4 separate regions of the Homo sapiens genome follow, and all the other regions are linked to region 1. The links are contacts of gene promoters, found by promoter capture Hi-C in blood cells and fetal thymus (Javierre and others, 2016). All regions are on one chromosome and are shown on one strand. Each heading gives the region's core, a stretch centred on a gene start or on the middle of the fragment in contact. The rest is flanking DNA. Distances are from core to core; before and after follow the strand shown. Region 1 holds the start of TSHR (thyroid stimulating hormone receptor). Region 2 overlaps NRXN3 (neurexin 3). Region 3 overlaps NRXN3 (neurexin 3). Region 4 overlaps NRXN3 (neurexin 3).

Evidence for each region. The method cuts DNA at HindIII sites, captures the fragments that hold promoters and counts their contacts. A CHiCAGO score of 5 or more calls a contact.
Region 2: a contact is called between a fragment that was not itself captured here and the fragment with the promoter of TSHR in region 1, in 7 of 17 cell types (naive B cells, M0 macrophages, M1 macrophages and 4 more). The highest score is 11.3, in naive B cells.
Region 3: a contact is called between a fragment that was not itself captured here and the fragment with the promoter of TSHR in region 1, in 1 of 17 cell types (M2 macrophages). The highest score is 7.3, in M2 macrophages.
Region 4: a contact is called between a fragment that was not itself captured here and the fragment with the promoter of TSHR in region 1, in 1 of 17 cell types (M1 macrophages). The highest score is 6.9, in M1 macrophages.

What each region holds. Positions count from the first base shown.
Region 1 is chr14:80,954,339-80,957,038 of GRCh38, forward strand. TSHR (thyroid stimulating hormone receptor) reads left to right here and starts at 1,283. Exons shown (of 10, transcript NM_000369.5): 1 at 1,283-1,512. The coding sequence starts at 1,343. It also overlaps a transcript of CEP128 not described here. The HindIII fragment of the contact is 2,816 bases long and covers 86-2,700 here.
Region 2 is chr14:78,964,625-78,967,365 of GRCh38, forward strand. It overlaps NRXN3 (neurexin 3), which reads left to right. Exons shown (of 21, transcript NM_001330195.2): 12 at 1,401-1,782; 13 at 2,584-2,741. Among named protein-coding and RNA genes, the nearest start is that of NRXN3-AS1, 110 kb to the right of the region's middle. The HindIII fragment of the contact is 1,569 bases long and covers 480-2,048 here.
Region 3 is chr14:79,035,187-79,037,935 of GRCh38, forward strand. All of the region lies in intron 15 of NRXN3 (neurexin 3), which reads left to right. Among named protein-coding and RNA genes, the nearest start is that of NRXN3-AS1, 39 kb to the right of the region's middle. The HindIII fragment of the contact is 8,428 bases long and covers 1-2,749 here.
Region 4 is chr14:79,011,551-79,014,250 of GRCh38, forward strand. The region is part of intron 15 of NRXN3 (neurexin 3); the gene reads left to right. Among named protein-coding and RNA genes, the nearest start is that of NRXN3-AS1, 63 kb to the right of the region's middle. The HindIII fragment of the contact is 1,103 bases long and covers 864-1,966 here.

The sequences.
Region 1 (2,700 bases), core at 33-2,532:
ATAGTATTCCAATGTGGAGGTATCAGAGTTTGTTTATCCATTATCTAGTCGCGAGACACTTGGTTCGTTTAGTGGTTATGAATAAAGCTTCTGTAAAATTTGGAATACACATATTTTAAATGTACGGTTTAATGAATTTTGATAAATGTATACATCCACTTAACCTCCAGCCTAATTACGATATGGAAACCCTGTGTGTTCCCTCCTGTCTTTTTCTAGTCAATCTTTCCTAACCTTTATTCTGATTCCCATAACCACAACTTTTTCCTTCCTGTCCTAGCCAAGTTCATATAAAAGGAATTATGCAGTATAGAAGGAATTGACATTCCTTTTATCCCAAGAGGAATAAGTGATTGAAGACTTTTAAGAAGGAAATAGGCACAATCTGATTTATGTTTGTAATGATCTTTTTGGCTACTGTGCGAAGAATGGTGAGTATGCCACTTAAGTATTATTTTTCTTCCCATCTTCCAGGGGGAATATGACTCAATGAAATTCTTGGGTCGACCAGAATTTCCATACTGGACCCATTATTAAGGGAACCTGGAATTATTTCTGCCATTCCCGATTCTTCCCAGCAGATGGCCCCAAAGTTCAGTTCCTGAATTGCCTCGCGGAGCCGCGGGCTGCAACGTGAGGCGGCCGCTGCCAGTCGACTCAACCACCGGAGTGGCCCCTGCAGTTGGATAGCAACGAGAATCCTCCAGGGGTGCAGGGCGACGGCTTCGGCCGCACCGCGGGCTAGCCAGGGCTGCGTGCCCGCCTCTGACCCTCAGCAGAGGTGTCTCTGGCCAGGAGGAGCTGAAGTTCTGCAGGACATTGGTCCGCCCGCGGACAGTCCACTCCGCGGGGACTTTCTCTGGATAAGGAGTGCGTGCGAGTGGCTCCCAGGCAGACAGGGTGTCTAGAAGGCTACACGCTAGGGAAGGTGGCTCCTTGGATTTAAAGAGGAGGAAAGGAGGGGGCATCTAAACTAGGCTTTGGAGAGAACTAATGGGAGGGGCGCCCGGGGTGGGGGGGCGGGCTGGAAAACAGAGGGGACAGCCAGGACTGGTGTTGGGTGTCAGGGAACAGACGGAGCGGACTGCGTGGGTCCAGCCAAGGAAAGTGAAGCAAGCAGACTTGTTTGGGTCAAGGTTGCCTAGGGAAGCGGAGCACTTAAGTGCCTCTTTTTCCCCTTCTCCAGCCTCCTCCACAGTGGTGAGGTCACAGCCCCTTGGAGCCCTCCCTCTTCCCACCCCTCCCGCTCCCGGGTCTCCTTTGGCCTGGGGTAACCCGAGGTGCAGAGCTGAGAATGAGGCGATTTCGGAGGATGGAGAAATAGCCCCGAGTCCCGTGGAAAATGAGGCCGGCGGACTTGCTGCAGCTGGTGCTGCTGCTCGACCTGCCCAGGGACCTGGGCGGAATGGGGTGTTCGTCTCCACCCTGCGAGTGCCATCAGGAGGAGGACTTCAGAGTCACCTGCAAGGATATTCAACGCATCCCCAGCTTACCGCCCAGTACGCAGACTCTGTGAGTACCCGGGAGAGATCAGGGTAGGACCCAGAGATCAAGGGCATCTGCAGAGGTGGCCCGAAGTGCACAAAAGCAGCTCAATAACAGCCCGAAGTAGTGTGTGAGTGTGTGTATGTGTGAGTGAATGTCTGTGTGTGTAGATGTGTGTGTGTGCTAAAAACTTAATCGCCCACACTTGGGAAGGTATCATTGTTGACATCCTCATTCCCAACACAGGAAAATGTTACAAAACTTTGGTGTACAATGACCGTGAGAGCTGTTCTTTCCAACAAGCTGCTATTCAGCACTTTGCCTAACCCTGGTTGAATCTGTTTTATTTGAATTAATAAGGATAATGGCATCTCAGGAACTGACCTTTTTGATCTTACCTTGGGTAATAAAAAATTGCAAAAATATGTATTTCTCCTTTTTGTTTCTCTAGATGGGAGGTTATCTTAGCAGTTCTGCTGATTCATCAAATTGTTGACAAAGGTTTAAGCAGGGGCCCTTTTTAAAATGAACTGTCTATACAGTATCTGTAAGTTACTTACTCAAATGTGAACTGCCAGTGAAATAGTACGTCCAGAACCCTGCTTTGTGATAGAGGTATAAAGAAATGAAATTTCATAAAAGTATAGTACATTTATCTGCATGTTAAATGTTACCAGATTAGAAACCTGATGTTAAATAAGATTATACACACACAACCTGTTTCTTAACAGCAATTTAAATCAGTGATCATTGAAATTGTAGACAAAACCAAGGGAATAAAGTCTGTCTTGATTAGTTAAAAAGAGAACAGAAAGAAAGGACAGTAAAACAACCTAGGCTGGTTAAATCCAGTTAAGATAAAAAAAAATGCAGGTTATTAAAGAAAATGTTGATAGATGAAAAGAAATGGGAAAGTTGCACCTCTAGATTTTCTCAAGAATTTAGCTCATGAAGACTATTTAACAGTAGATGAATATTTGAGCACAGAGATATATTTCTGTGCTCAGAGATATCCTAGTGTCTTAGCACACCTGAATTAATTAGTTCAATAACCTCCAAACAGTGTGGTAGTCATTCTCCATGCTGCCACCACAGAATAAGATGTGTAAAAGGTGTAATGGCCTCTTGATTACACCTCTACATAGGTTGCTTGTCACCTCTAGAATAAAATTCTTTTGTGCAGCCTACCAGATCTTTCAAGACCTAGTCAAGTCT
Region 2 (2,741 bases), core at 14-2,513, 2.0 Mb before region 1:
GAGGACAGGAAGAAAGAATTCCCCCTCTAATGCTTGGCAGTAGAACATGGTTTGTTATGTTTTAACATGATTTTTCTATATAAATGTTGAGGAAGCCAATTTCTACTCTGGCCACATTAATGATGTTTTTCTTTATTTTGTTATTAAAATTTCCAGTCTCTTTGTATTTTTTTTTCAAGCCCTCCTTATCCCCTCTGCCCTAGTCACTCACCACTTCTAGGTAAAATAGGTAATACAAGTTCTAAATAGTTCATTTGTAACAGCTGAAGATATTTCCGTTGTGAATGTCAGAAACCCAACTCAAACGCTTTAAGCATGAAAGGGAGTCTATTGCCACACAGTTTGAAAAAGCCGGGAGGTGCCTGGCTTGATCCAGAGTCTCAAAGGACAGCACAGATGATTCTCTTCATTTGGTAATTGTCTTCTGGGTTGCTAGTCCTCTGATCCCTCTGATTTTCTTATAGCCTCTAGGGACTCAAAGCTTTCTTCTTACCCCTCCAGCAGTCCTTGCTTGCAAAGAATCCTCTTTCCTAAGTGTACCAGCAAGAGCTCTGGAACTGAGTGTGGCCGGGATGGCTTGGGTTGTTGCCAGTTCTAAGGGTGGTCCCTAAATCAGCCACAAGAGCATCACTGTGAAACTTGTTAGAAATGCAGATTCTCAGGCCTCACCCCAGACTTTTGAATTCTAAACTCTGAGGGCCTAAGCCCCCCAGGTGATTCTGATACACCCTAAAGTGTAATGACCGCTTTTTAAGTCTGTAGTCCAAAGTCTGTGACAGTTAGGGGGGTAAAGTACATTGAGTGGTCTAGGCTGAGTAGCTTGATTAGGGTCAACTTTATCCAGTCCAGGTGGTTGAAAGGTCAAGAGGGGTGGGTAGCTTCCTAAAGAAAAATTACGTGTTATTATAAGATAAAGTAACAGTTGCTGGGCAGGTAAACTCAACTGATAAGTCTATAATAGAATCCTTCCCACGAGTACTAAGTGGAGAGTTATTACGAGAAAAAATACTTGGTAGTGATGCCCAAGACTTGTGTGTTGTGTCTTTACAAGGGTCAGAGCAACAAAGGCCTTTCTTCTTATAGTGTGTATTAGTGTCCAGTGATTCTCCTGAATGGAGAATATCAATAGTTTTATCCTTTAGCCTGGGTTACTCATGACCTCATATTTCCCCTTATATGATGAGCCGTGCTGAGCAGCTGCGTGACAGCATGTAATTTGGGCAATGCCTGATTGAGGCCAAGTAAGGTATCTACCATATTGAATATTTGGTTTTCTTGAACTCACCCAAGAAAGCTGAATATTCTGTGTGGAAACAGGTTACACCCAAAAAATATACTTGAGGGTGCTGTGATAAATGATGGTAACTTTTCTGTTTGTACCTCATTTACAATTTTCACAGGTACAATGGTGGGAGACCATACCCGTTTGGAGTTCCACAACATTGAAACGGGAATCATGACTGAGAAACGCTACATCTCCGTTGTCCCCTCCAGCTTTATTGGCCATCTGCAGAGCCTCATGTTTAATGGCCTTCTCTACATTGACTTGTGCAAAAATGGTGACATTGATTATTGTGAGCTGAAGGCTCGTTTTGGACTGAGGAACATCATCGCTGACCCTGTCACCTTTAAGACCAAGAGCAGCTACCTGAGCCTTGCCACTCTTCAGGCTTACACCTCCATGCACCTCTTCTTCCAGTTCAAGACCACCTCACCAGATGGCTTCATTCTCTTCAATAGTGGTGATGGCAATGACTTCATTGCAGTCGAGCTTGTCAAGGGGTAAGTAGAAGGGATCACGACTTATGTTGGACACCTTTAATCTACTGAAGCTCTACGTAAAATATGGACATAAAAATAACTTGTCTATTCTACTCCCTACCCTCCATTCCTGACACATTCTCGCATCTTCCTTGATTAAATGGATCCATAAAATTATTAGGTCTGGAAAGGAGAGAGGCTCATGATTTAATTTAAAGGTCTTCCACTAACTCAACACTAACAGACTTTTTCCTATGAAATGTAGCCCTTTAAAACTATTGAAGAAAAGCTTATTTTTGCAAAAGAGGGCTATGATTTGTATTGCATCTAATTCTTGAGTATTACTAACTACAACCACCCAATTTATACCAAAAGATGAAACATAAATATTTTAAATCCTACCATTAGCCCATATATGCAAGTTTTTAGAAGCTGCCCTTTCCTCAAGACATTTTACTACCATGTATTAGAAAATAGTCAAAACAAAAAACCAAAACAAAAACCAAAACAGATTAATGGTTGATGATGAATTTAAAAGTCACCCCCTTATGTTTTGTAGTGTACAACCTGTGCTACTTTGACTCTGGAGAGTATTAGTAGGTAGTGTTAATGAAGTGGACTCGATGAGTATGGAATTATAGTGAAGCATGATAGAATAAAATCTGACTATTCTTGTAACCTCATATCAAGATTTAAATTATTCCTGCATTATGCCAGTTTAGCATGGGGGATTTGAAGCCCACTATGTCAGTTACACACATATAGCCATTAAACCACTTCGGGGATTTTCCAATTATTGTTTTTTTTTTTTTTTCTTCCTAGGTATATACACTACGTTTTTGACCTCGGAAACGGTCCCAATGTGATCAAAGGCAACAGTGACCGCCCCCTGAATGACAACCAGTGGCACAATGTCGTCATCACTCGGGACAATAGTAACACTCATAGCCTGAAAGTGGACACCAAAGTGGTCACTCAGG
Region 3 (2,749 bases), core at 12-2,511, 1.9 Mb before region 1:
AATTGAAAAATGCCAGCAGGCAAGATAAATTTGACAGAAAATAGGTAAAATCAAAGTTTTATTCATGTACAGTGGTTAAGAATGAAGATATTAAGATAAATTATTTTAAGTGAGGACTGTCCTTTTAATAGGCCTCACTCTATAGCCTTGTCTCATTTTTCATTTTCACAAGGTTCTTGATGTATTCTTTTCATTATATAAAACGTGCCATATTTGGTCTTTTCATGAAATGTATCTGATATTCTCCTTTGACAGCCATTCACGTGAAAAGAAAAGGTCCTATTTCTGTCCATCACCTACATGCACATATTCATAGAAATCATAGATTTTTGGTAAAATATGCTATATACTTATACAGCATCTTAATCTCAGAAACCCAAAGGGTTTAGATCCATAACTGTACCATATTTCCTTTCTGTATGTTGAGAGATACACATGGTCAAATTTCCTAAAACCTGAATCTAACTCAATCTAAATTATATGATTTCCGTTTCTACACAGTGGAACAAGTGTGTGTGAAATAAAATCACCAGCCCAGAGGCATTCACCCAAATAAATCTTGGAGATTTTCTGCAACATTTCATCCCTCTACTTCTATATCTAAGTATTGCTACTTCTAGTTGGATGTAAAATGCATCCTTCTCAATTTATTTTTGTTTGTGGGGGATGGATGGAACTAACTGTTCCCCCACTACTTTATAAACAAATATAAAATGTGGATGTGTAGGTATTTTAAATGCTAACAGTAGAATTTTAGTATCTAGTTAATAACCCTATTGGTTGGAATTTAAATCTTTTCAGGAGGAAAAATTAATCATCCATTATATCATTCATCTTGATGCTGTCACTTTCTTCTTGAAATCAGAAAAACATCGTAGTTTTTACATGGTAGTTTTTCCTTGTTGGAGGACAGTTGCATTTTACTCCACACTGTTAAATGCATTAGGCCATGTAAGAGAAATATAATTCTGTAATTATTCAGAACTCAGTTGGTTGTTTATATGGTATTCAGCAAGATACTTCCCCCCCACCTCCAACTTCTTATAACACAATTTCAAAGCACCAATCGTCTTCCTCTTTTAAAGTAACACCATGACTGATTGCCTTAAATTTATATATGATCTTGTTCTAATGTCCTTTCTAAAAATAAGAAAAAAATATTCCACAAGTAAAACGAGAGTATGATAGATACTTCACCATGGTGCTGGTGTATGTAGACTTGCGTGAGGGGGAGGACATGGAATGGTATGTTCTCCATTCATCTCTAGTTTTATTTCCTAGATGAGTTATGGGTGAATACTGTGACAAAAACAAAACAACAACTAAAATGGAAAAGTCCCAGGAGTGAACAGAAACCAGGACTTAAACTGCTTCATCATTATTTTATTGTATTGTTTTCGTTTTGGGTTTTTTTTTTTTTTTTTTTTTTTTTTTTTTTTTAAGGAAGTTACAACAAGGAGCAGCTAAGGACAGATAAATTGGTAGCAGATTGTGGTTTATGATAACGACAGTCCCGAAGGAACTTGGCTTTCTTGGTGACGTTGAAGTAAATTGCATTACTCAAGATGTATACTAAGAAGGATAGATAATGAGGTGTATGGGGGAAAGGCATGATGACTATTTTTATAGTATTGTTGACTACCAAAATGAATGGAAGGGAAGGCGGGACCAGGTGGAGTTCCTTGGGTTAATTTCGATGTACCTTATAAATGACAAAATTTCCACCCACTTCTCTTAGAGGGATAAAAATATTTGAAAGTGTCTGAAACAATTGCCGACCACTATTTCAATTCCTTTTCCTAACTTCTAGTACCTTTGATTTACTCTGAATTCCTAATTTCTTGTTAAATGGGACCATATTTGTTTATAATTCACCTGGGTTAAAAATAATGTTTTCTTCTGAGAAGAGGAAAGAGGAAGGGAGTGCTCTAGCTTCTTCATCCAGAAACAGACTCTTATGTAAAACCCCCAGGAGATTCTATAAGATATCAGGGAAGATTCACCTAAAGATTAGGACCCTTTGAGCCTGACAAATCTCCTGTTGAATGCCTTGCTTTCAACCAAAGCTGAGATAAAAAGTGCGCGCATGTGCACACATGCTCAAATACACAGGCAGAAAGCTCTCAGCTACAAGACCTGCTTCCGTAGTTTACAGAGCACCTGTAGCCCATTTCCCCTGTGTTTTTTAGGCAAATCTTTGTTATCATGGTGTATGACAGCCACATATAATCTGAGTACCACTTCCTCCCTTCTTAATTTTCCACCATTTATGCCAATTAGAAGCAAAATAAAAGGGATGATTTCTGGTCACTTAAAATCGGGGTGAAGCAAGGATGGAGGTTGTCCTGCAAAGGCATTTTAATTCTAAAGAAAAAGGAGATTAGTGGCCTCTACCCATCTTAGAGAATAGAGTGTCCTGACACCTTCCCTTCCTCCTTGCTCAGTATTCTCCCTCTCCCTAGTGCCACATTGAGAGGAGATTCACTCCTAAAAGAGTGTGTCATTTTAAGTTGACTTTCTTGGAGCTGAGCTAAGAGCCATTGCCAAGGCCAGTGGGCGTAAATTCAGTCCGCCTGACGGGAGATGAAGGGTTGTGGGATTTATGACTTATTTGAGTTCTCATATATCACCCTCTGTGTCGCTCGCTTATGATGGCCCTGCCAAAAGATAAAGAAGTGTAGGACGCTGGTACGGGCTGTGGTGACAGGCCAGGGACAAATGTCTCTGTTGGGTAAATTGATTTGAATGA
Region 4 (2,700 bases), core at 165-2,664, 1.9 Mb before region 1:
AAATTTTGGACACTCCTTTTTCAACCTTCTTGCAATAAACTGTATTCACTTATTTTGGAAAAAAGCATCAATAAATGGAACTAGTGAGTTATCTTCTCAGCATGTCTCCACAGGCTACACTTACAACAGTCTTTCCTCCTACAGAGCGGGGCAAGTCATAGGAAGTGACTAAAACCATGTCATTTGGGTGTTCATATTAAGCACACTGGCTATGAGATCGCCCCGGAATGTATACACAGCCCAACATGTCATTTTCTTAACACCTTAACATCAGTGTGGACAAAAACAATAAGGAACAATGTTTTAAACATGTTTACATCAAAGAGGACTGGGGTCATAAGGAAGCAGTTCGATGGGAGAATAAATAACATTATTCCAAATTCAATAAAACTGATCAGTCATTCTACAAATGTACACTGATTTGACTCATTCCATTACCATGCAAGAATTTTATTTGTTGACTGTTGTGAAGACATTCCTGTCATCAAGAAGGAATTTTCTAAAATTATAACCTGAGATAGTAGTAAGTGATAGAAAAATTCACTAAATGGCTTTTCCATGAAATAATATTTATTTATACCTACTTCTGAATACCTACTATGTGCTGAGCAGGTGCAGGGTGATGTGAAACATATATTAAATCCCTTAAGGAGCCTACAGACAAAGATTAAGAGATGGCTGAAAGATAGTGTATCCAAGGTCACGTTGGCACAGATTACTGAAGTGAGTGGGGTGGCCTGGAAGAACATTAAGTGGACATTTAAGATGGAACAGCTAATAAGACAAAGGTAAAATGAGTCTAGAAGAATGACTAGACTGAGAAGAGAGGAAAGGAAAGAGGCAGAAATAGTAGAATGTAGAAAAGCTTTAGGCCCATGGTGATTATGGAGAATTGCAGAAGTCCAGTAATCTAGAGCATAATAATGCATATGTGGAAAGAGTGGGAAATTGGGGCCATAGGTAGAAGCCAGAATCAGGGACTTTGAGTACTAAATTGAGCATGATCTATTTTCTAGAAGGTATAGGAGAGACTTTGAAGAAGGCTGTCACTTGCTCCCCACGTAACCCTCTAAGAAGGCATGCCATTCACTTCCACTTTCCAGAAGACACAGGTGTGTTTCCCCAGAAGACCATCTGGATCCAGAATCTGTGCAGACTGACCATCTATCATGGTCTTTCCTTGTGGGAATTTTAAGTCTTGACTTTCCTTCTGGAGCTTTCCATGCGACCGAGGAAGTGATTATACAATAGCAGATGAGATCCTTGGTATAATTAAGGATTGCTTGTCACTTTCAACATTTCCCCCCATCAAACCGTGGACAGAGAGGCCTTGGAAGGGTTTAGTTCTGCTACCATACTCATTTAACCCTGCTAAGCATATTTTCTTCAGCATTTTGCAAGCAGAAATTTATAGTAATGTTTTTTGACACTAACTCTGAGTCCTGCATTCTCTGCCTGACTTGCTGTATTTGAAGGTGGTAGCGAAACACATGGTGTATGTGTATGTATGAAGTAGGAGGCATGGTGGTACAGATTTAGCTATGGGACTTTTCAGCTTTGCCTGTATGAAATTCATTTACTAAGTATATGTAAGTGAAATTCCAGCAATTCAGAAAGGGTTCTGGAATTGCTTAAAGCCCATCACTGCTTGTGAATTCTTCCCACATTAAAATGTTATCTTACAGAAGGTCAAAATGTCTTTCCTGCATGAATATAATAATGACTTACACCTTAGACTGTAACCATTGTGAATTTATTCTATGTGTATCTATCTCTGGTTTTCTTTGTTGGAGTGGCAAGATTTAAAGCAGGCCAATTTTATGCCTCATTCTATGTGCACCAAAACTACTTACATGATATTGGTTTTCAGTGCCTGCTACAACAAAAACAATATCCCAGTAACAGCCCACTTTACTTTCTGTGGGTAGACAATGCCCTCACAGGGGTTATTAACTTCTCCCAGAGAAGCTTTTGTCTTTGCAATCCTGAATGCATTTCTCTTCATATTAGATTTTACCAGTCACCTTGTTGATTATGAAATGCTAAGTCAGGGTCTTTATTAGACTGACTTTGCTTTCCCTTTAATAATTCAGGTAATTATTATATTTACAGAATTTGCCTATTTTTTGAAATCAACACTTTGTTAATCACCAGACCCATGACAATCTATAAGTAGCCACTTTACGTGGCTTATAGATCTAAAGTGAATGTTGGTTTTCACACATTCATTCATAACTATTATTTTTACTGATATATTAGGCAAAATATAAGATTCATTTATGAGTTTGTTCATCAGCTAGTTATAAAATTCCTGTTGCATGGTAAGTGCTGTCTGTATTGGGCAACAGAGATAAAATGGGAAACAAAACAAAAATCTTCCCTACTGTCATGGGGTTTACAACACCTGGACTTCTCAAAGGACACTGAATCAAAGGTTCTTCTCTAAGACTTTGTATGAAGTCTTAGTCAGAATCAAAGATGGTTGGCACCATCATTCACTAAAGTGGCCTGAGAAGTAAAAAACCTCTGTATGGCAAGGAGCAGTGGGACCTCTCTTTTTTTAAACTTTTATTTTAGGTTCAGGGGTACATGTGCAGGTTTCTTACTTAGGTAAATTGCGTGTCACAGGGATTTGGCATACAGATTATTTTGTTAGCCAGATAATAAACATAGTACCCAATAGCTTTTCAATCCTCACCC